Linked DNA regions of Homo sapiens: region 2 is linked to region 1. Evidence: promoter capture Hi-C in 16 types of primary human blood cells and fetal thymus (Javierre and others, 2016). All regions are on one chromosome and are shown on one strand. Each heading gives the region's core, a stretch centred on a gene start or on the middle of the fragment in contact. The rest is flanking DNA. Distances are from core to core; before and after follow the strand shown. Region 1 has its middle 11 kb from the start of SESN2. Region 2 holds the start of TRNAU1AP (tRNA selenocysteine 1 associated protein 1).

Evidence for each region. The method cuts DNA at HindIII sites, captures the fragments that hold promoters and counts their contacts. A CHiCAGO score of 5 or more calls a contact.
Region 2: the fragment with the promoter of TRNAU1AP here is called in contact with a fragment that was not itself captured in region 1 in 9 of 17 cell types (fetal thymus, endothelial precursors, naive CD4 T cells and 6 more); the score reaches 8.1 in fetal thymus.

The regions. Positions count from the first base shown.
Region 1 is chr1:28,246,436-28,250,119 of GRCh38, reverse strand. No RefSeq gene overlaps it. Among named protein-coding and RNA genes, the nearest start is that of SESN2, 11 kb to the left of the region's middle. RefSeq lists enhancers at 1,518-1,717, 2,959-3,128. The HindIII fragment of the contact is 6,700 bases long and covers 1-3,684 here.
Region 2 is chr1:28,551,250-28,555,015 of GRCh38, reverse strand. It overlaps TRNAU1AP (tRNA selenocysteine 1 associated protein 1), which reads right to left and starts at 1,931. Exons shown (of 9, transcript NM_017846.5): 1 at 1,879-1,931; 2 at 1,279-1,376. The coding sequence starts at 1,905. RefSeq lists silencers at 625-919, 1,852-1,991 and enhancers at 2,142-2,201, 1,925-2,219. The HindIII fragment of the contact is 4,615 bases long and covers 1,546-3,766 here.

The DNA.
Region 1 (3,684 bases), core at 909-3,408:
AACCCAGGCAGGAATGACTCCTATGCAGAAACTCCACCACTCCATTGATGAGACAAACACATGAATATGTAAGAAGCCGGCTGGCAAAAGGAACTGATGCTTAAAGCAGATATATTAATTGGAAGTGAGAAACATAACTGTCAAGCGACCTGTAATTGAGAGGCCAGGGCATTCCTCTTTGTAGGAGAGCCTTTACTGAAAGGCAAATTTATCATCTGAAGGTGGCTAAGGCAGCTGGAATCTGAGCAAGTGAAAGGACGAATTATTGAACTGCTCTACTCAGCAACTATCTGCTGGTCAGGGCTCCAGTTCCTTCCTTCCTTTTTTCATTCAATAAATATTTATTTACCATCTTGTGTGTACCAGGCACTGTGCCTGGCTCTGGGAAATCCAGTGGTGAAGCTAGCAGCCTAGCAGGGCATGGCAGGGTGCCACTGGCTGGGCACATTCCTCCCCTCCCCACTGCCTTGTATTTTTGGTTGGGTAAAGATCTCCTTCTTCTGTTGCCACACTCTCAACTCTTGCATCAGCTATGTTGAGGCCACTGATTGGCCAGCTATTTATATTCCTCAATCACCTTCCAGTCCCAAAGATACACCTACCTAGACTGGATTTGAAATGTTTTTGAGATGTCTTCAGCCTTAGATCCATTTCAGATTATGACCCTAATATGATTGTCATCTGTTCTGTATTCATTCTTCCTGAATTAGTTTTCTAGTCTCAAATTCTGAGATCACTTTACTATAATGACCTTGTAATGGGACCATTCGGGGGGCTGTGATTTATCACCCCAGATGTCATTTTCTGAGCTCTTCTTATTGTTTCCCCCCTCCCCACCCACTAATCTCAGATACAATTCCTGCCCAGGGGGAACTTTCAGGAAAGAAGTTCCACTCCAATTGGTTTGATAAAGCCAAAGAAGACCCATCCTTCAAGGCTTAGTCACACATTAATTCAATTACTCATGAAGCAGGCATTGTGCTAGGTGGGGAGGGAGGTCCTTCCTGCACAGAGCTGACAGGTGCCGAGCTGTCAAGCTACACAACCAAAATTGTCCTTTGGAGTTGTGCATTAGCAGGCAGTACAACCACAGACTCCCAGAAACAAAGCCAACTATCTCCTAAGAGCACTTCCCAGGAGTCAGGCAATTCGGGTGCCAGCTTTTAGCCAAGTAACCCAAACTGAATTTTTTTTTTCCAGCTCTTTGAATCTGTTTCCCTATCTGTAAAACAAAGAAATAGAAATTAGCTCTAAACTTGCAGAGTCATTATGGAGAGAACTGGTGCCATAAAGAACTGGCAGTGTATATAATTCGTCTTCTCGATTGCATACTGAGGACAGAAATCTTCAGGTTTGGAAACGTTTACCCTTCTTAAATGCAAAAACTAACGCACTGGGTGCTTTTGGGCAAATTGCTTGGTTGATTTAGTTTAGTTTTGTCGGCTGAGTGGTTCCTCAACGCCCCCTGCAGGCCAGATCCTGCTATAGCTAAGTCAGAATGGAGTAGGAAAGGGCTGGCCCAAACCGTTTTGAGTTTATAGGATTGTTAGGGTCCATGTCACCGCCTGAAGGTCTTGAAAAGAGGCCAGGCAACAGCTAAGTAAAGGTCTGTGGTTGCTGAAGATTCCCCCTGCTGCCAGCAAGGACCAGAGTCCTAAAATACTTCACAGCCCGAATGCACTTTCCATTGTTTTGGCTTACTACCTCTCTTACAAGGCAGGAAGCCTCAGGTCGAGAGAGAGGAATTTGCCCAAGGTTCCCTAGGAAGTTGGCCACAGAGTGGAGACTAGAATCTCGAGGTCCAGGGCTACCTACACCTTAATAGGCTGCCCCAGGAGAGAAGCCTCACATTTTCAGAAAGAACAACTTCTCCCTTTCCTCTGGTCTCCCTTCCTTCCCCAACCCTCCACTCCTAGAGGCTCTATACATCCTATTCTCAGAGAACCACCCTGAGGCTTGTCCCTGGAGCAACGCCTCTGGCCTCCCACCATCCTGTCCTACCTTTCCCTATCCCCAGCGGAATTCTGTACCCCGACCCCCTCCCTAAAAAGGCCACACTTGGAATCAGGATATCGGAGTTGAAGGTTCCAGTTCCAACCCTTTCTTTGTGAACCTCAGCAAAACACTTCACTTCTCTGAACCCGTTTCCTGTTTTTTTGTTTTTGTTTTTCTTTTATTACGTTTTTGTTTTTCTGAGACAGGTCTCGTTCTGTTGCCCAGGCTGGAGTGCAGTGGCGCGATCATAGCTCACTTAAGTTTGGAGCTCCTGGGTCCTCTCACCTCAGCCTTCCGAGTAGCTGGGTCTACAGGACTGCATGTTAAATGTTAAATGGGGCAATAGTTTACCTCCACCGTTCTATTGTGAGAATGAGAGCTTATGCATGGAAACCCCTTAACAAGGCTTGATGCAGATGAAGTGCTCAATAAACTGTAGATTATCTATATTTTTACTGTTATTTTGAAGGATCTGGCTCAGTGACTGGCTGATAGTGGTGGGTGTTCAAGAAAGGTGCCTACAACCATTAATATTAAAAGTTTGGCGCACATAGCCTGGCATTTAGTTGCAGTTTAATAAACTGTGGCTAGTATTGTTTTTTTGACCCCAGGACGCCCAGTGCGGTTTCAGCGTTAACAACTCCTTAGCGAAAATTGCAGAACAGACTTTTCGCTCAGCAACAGGCTCCTCTTACGTAAACCGCACCGGCCAATGAGCAGGAAGATGGGCGGGGTTTCTTGGCAGCCAATAGTAGCCCGCAGCGGCGCGCAGGATAGGCCCAGGCTGGTTTCCAGGCTGCGTACGGAAACGAATCCCCGGGGCTCTTTGACTGGGGGCGAGTCTTCGAAGTCGCCAGGCTCTGCCTATCAACCGGGTCCTGATTGGTGCAGGCTGTGGCGGTCCGCCCCTGACTCCGTCTAGCCCCGCTCCGCGAGAAGAGGCTGAACTGCCCCATCTGCTTCTAATTTCTTTCTTTCTTTCTTTCTTTCTTTTTTTCCCCTCTTTTCCTTTTCTTCTTTTAAATATACGTTTGGAAATTTGCCGGGCGTGGTGGCGGGCGCCTGTAATCCCAGCTACTCGGGAGGCTGAGGCAGGAGAATCGCTTGAATCCGGGAGACGGAGGTTGCAGTGAGCCGAGAACGCGCCACTACACTCCAGCCTGGACGACGAGAGTGATACTCCGTCTCAGTCAATCAATCAATCAATCAATCGTTTGATTTTCGTTTTATGCTTTTACTTCCAAATTTATATTTATTGCAAAAAATGTGGAATATAACAAAGTGTAAAGGTGAAACTGAAATAACCCGAAATTATATTTCCCCCTCTGTGGTTTTTTTTTTTCCGTCTCTGTGTTTTTCAATGTTTTTCAGGCCTTCTGTCTTGAGCTCGTATTACTGCTGTTCACTGATGTATTGTAAAAGCGTAAAACCGGACGTGACCCAAATGTCTATCAAAGGAGACTGATGAGAGAAATAAACGGATTTGTTCACACAACGGCTTCTACAGCAAAGAAACAGAAGGTAGCTCCAAGTGCTCTGAAATGGAAAGGTATGCAGGATTTCCTGTTAGGTTAAAACAGAACGAAGCAAAAACCGAGGTTGCGCAATGATACATATAGAACAGTCTCATAGTTGTATACATAGTTACACAGAGGAAACAAAGATCTGGAAAGATGTGTAGTTTGCACC
Region 2 (3,766 bases), core at 682-3,181, 310 kb before region 1:
TCCACCCTTCTCGCCTCCCGAAGTGCTGGGATTACAGGCATGAGGCACCGCACCCATCCTCCACAATTTTTTAAATGAATGGCATAAGAGTTAAGGGCCCTCATGAGCTTTCAGGATAGACTCGAATTCAAGTCCTGACTTGTTATTTATTATAACTCTTTTTTTTTTTTTTTGAGACAGAGTCTCAGCTGTCGCCCAGGCTGGAGTGGAGTGGAGCGATCTCGGCTCACTGCAAGCTCCGCCTCCTGGGTTCACGCCATTCTCCTGCCTCAGCCCCCCAAGTAGCTGAGACTACAAGTGCCCGCCACCATGCCCAGCTAATTTTTTTTGTATTTTTAGTAGAGATGGGGTTTCACCGTGTTAGCCAGGATGGTCTCAATCTCCTGACCTCGTGATCCGGCCTGCCTCGGCCTCCCAAAGTGCTAGGATTACAGGCGAGAGCCACTGCGCCCGGCTATTTATTGTAACTCTTCAAGTTATTAAGCCTCTTCATAATAGTATTTACCTACCTCAGAAGTTTCTGAGGTTTTAAGGAGATAATGGATGTAAACTGCTTATTACTCAGCAGATCGTAATCTGACTATACTTACTGAGCATATGCTATATGCCATACACTGTCCTAATGATGAATGTGAATTAACTCATTTAATCCTCACCATAACTCTAGGAGGTAGGTGCTGTTATTTCCATTTTTATACTCAAAGTGAATGAGACAGAGCAGTTAAGTAACTTACCCAAGGTCATAGAGTAGAAATAGCTTTCAAACCCAGTCTCGCTTGAGTCCTGCGTTTTTTGTTTTTTTGTTTTTTTTTTTTTTGAGACATTGTTTTGCTCTTGTTGTCCAAGCTGAAGTACAGTGGCACGATCTCAGCTCACTGCAACCTTCGCCTCCCGGGTTCAAGTGATTCTCATGCCTCAGCCTCCGGAGTAGCTGGGGTTACAGGTGCCTGCCACCACACCCGGCTAATTTTTGTATTTTTAGTAGAGACGGGGTTTCACCATGTTGGCCAGGCTGGTCTCAAACTCCTGACCTCAGGTGATCCACCCACCTCAGCCTCCCAAAGTGCTGGGATTACAGGTGTGAGTCACAACGCCTGGCAAGTCCTACCCTTAAGCTACATGCCATCCTTCCACTCATTGGGACCTCAAAATGTTAGCTGTTATAATTTTACAGTGACTATTACTAGGGGTAGTGAGAAGCCATGACTACGATGTTTACATTCTCGTACATGACAGCTGCAACGAGATGTATTAAGAGAGACCTGAGATGAGACTTACCCAGTGAGGCGGTTTCGGATAATTTTGACGCTCATTACGGTCTCCCCCATGGTGGCAAAGGCTCTGGAGATGAAGTTCTCATCCATGTAGGGTTCCAGCTGCGTAAAAACAAGAGCACAGCGGCTCAGGCCGGCGGCCGGGCTTCCCACTCCGGGTTCCAGAGCCCCTCCCGTTCAGCCCAGGGCTGGCTACGCGCCGCTGGGGGAGCGAGGGGCGAGGTTCGCCTCCACTGAGCGGCCTGAAACCCCAGCTCTTTTGGTTCAAGCTTGCCCCGCTTTAGGGAGCCTCCCCTTGGACCTAGAAACCCCACTCCTCCGGTCCCAGAACAGCGCGCCTCAGTCCTTGGATTGCTCCCATTCTATGTCCCCAAAGCACCACCTTTCCCTCCCACGAACCCAGGTGGGGCCCCAGGACCCCTAGCCTCACGGACTCAGCCTCTTCACTTAGATGCTGGAACCCGCTTCTGTGTCACCAAAAAGAACCCCCGTCACACGTCTCCCCTTTCTGGGATCCCAAGTCCCCTCCCACTCAGATCCTTCCTCTCTCGCGAAACCGAGATGCTTCCTTGTCTTCAGACCCCGGACGGCTGCCCTCACTCACGTCGCCCATCCACAGGCTGGCCGCCATACCCGCGCACCGGGGTGGGGCTTTGCGGGCGGGGCTCTGCGGGCGGGGCTCGAAGGCCCGCGCGGGCGCCAATCCTGGCTGCGGAGACCGCTACAGAGCATGCGCCTCCGACGGCTTCTGCGCAGGCTCCCGAGCGCAGCGGCCCGGGTCGGGCAGTGTGTTCAGCTCCGGGTTTTTCCTGCAACCCACTGGGCGCTAGGCTTCCGGATCGCGGTGGGCGGAGTTCAGGCTGGAATGGGGCGGGCCAGATACCACCTGGCCCAGGCGGCTGGGTTACTTGGGTTTATTTCTGACTTTATATATTTAGAAAACAAACAAAACTACACACACACACTCGTCTGACTTTATATAGAAAACAAAACCACACACACACAGACACATATAATTACAACATTAATATATGCTCGTTAGGGCTGGGCACGGTGGCTCACGCCTGTAATCCCAGCACTTGAGGAGGCCGAGGCGGGCGGATCACGAGGTGAAGAAATCGAGACCATCCTCGCCAACAGGGGGAAACCCCCTCTCTACTAAAAGTACGAAAATTAGCGGGCGTGGTGGCGAGCGCTGGTAGTCGCAGCTACTCGGGAGACTGAGGCAGGAGAATCGCTTAAACCCAGGGGGCAGAAGTTGCAGTGAGCCGAGATAGCGCCATTGCACCGCAGCCTGGTGACAGAGCAAGACTCCATATATATACATACACACACACACACACATACACATATATATACACATATATACACATATACACACATAATACACATATACACATATATACACACATACACATATATATACATATATACACACACACACACACATATATATGTATGCTCGTTACTTGGGTTAATTTCTGACTTTACATATTTAGAAAACAAACAAGGCCGGGCGCGGTGGCTCACGCCTGTAATCCCAACACTTTGGGAGGCCGAGGTGGGCAGATCACGAGGTCAGGAGATCGAGACCATCCTGGCCAACATGGTGAAACCCCGTCTCTACTAAAAATACAGAAATTAGCCGGGTATGATGGTGTGCACTTGTAGTCCCAGCTACTCAGGTGGCTGAGACAGGATAATCACTTGAACCCGGGAGGCAGAGGCTGCAGTGAGCCGAGATCGCGCCACTGCACTCCAGCCTGGGCGACAGAGTGAGACTCTGTCTCAAATTAAAAAAAAAACAAAAAACAAAAAACATACACACGTACACACACACACAAACACACACATAATTACAACATTAATATATGCTCGTTGTAAAAAACTGCAGATACAAGTGCATCCAAAAAAGTGAAAATATCCCTCCGGACAACCCGGTTCCACTACCTCCCTATTGTTACCAGGGGTTCTTAGGCTCTCAATCCAACAGAAATTAACATGAGGCCAAAAAAGTTTTCCCAGACAAGTCTTCATTGGAGCTTATGCCTGGGTATAAGGGAGGCAGCACAAGAGAGCGAGAATTCCCTGACTCTCCGAAAAGAGCTGGTTGAGATGTTTTATTGGGCAAAGCACGGAAAGTGATATCAAGTGTAGGGTTTACAGGCTGGGCAGGACAAAGCTCATGAGGGTGGGGTATGAAGGTCAGCATATCCTGTTGTAATGATTATCTTTTTTTTTTTTTTTGAGACGGAGTCTTCCTTTGTCGCCCAGGCTGGAGTGCAATGGCACAATCTCGGCTCAGAATAGCTAGAATCTAGCCTCCTGGGTTCTAGCTATTCTCCTGCTTCACCTCCTGAGTAGCTGGGATTACAGGCGCCCACCACCAGGCACAGCTAATTTTTGTATTTTCAGTAGAGACGGGGTTTCACCATGTTGGTCAGGCTGGTCTCGAACTCCTGACCTGAGGTGATCCACCCACCTCGGCCTCC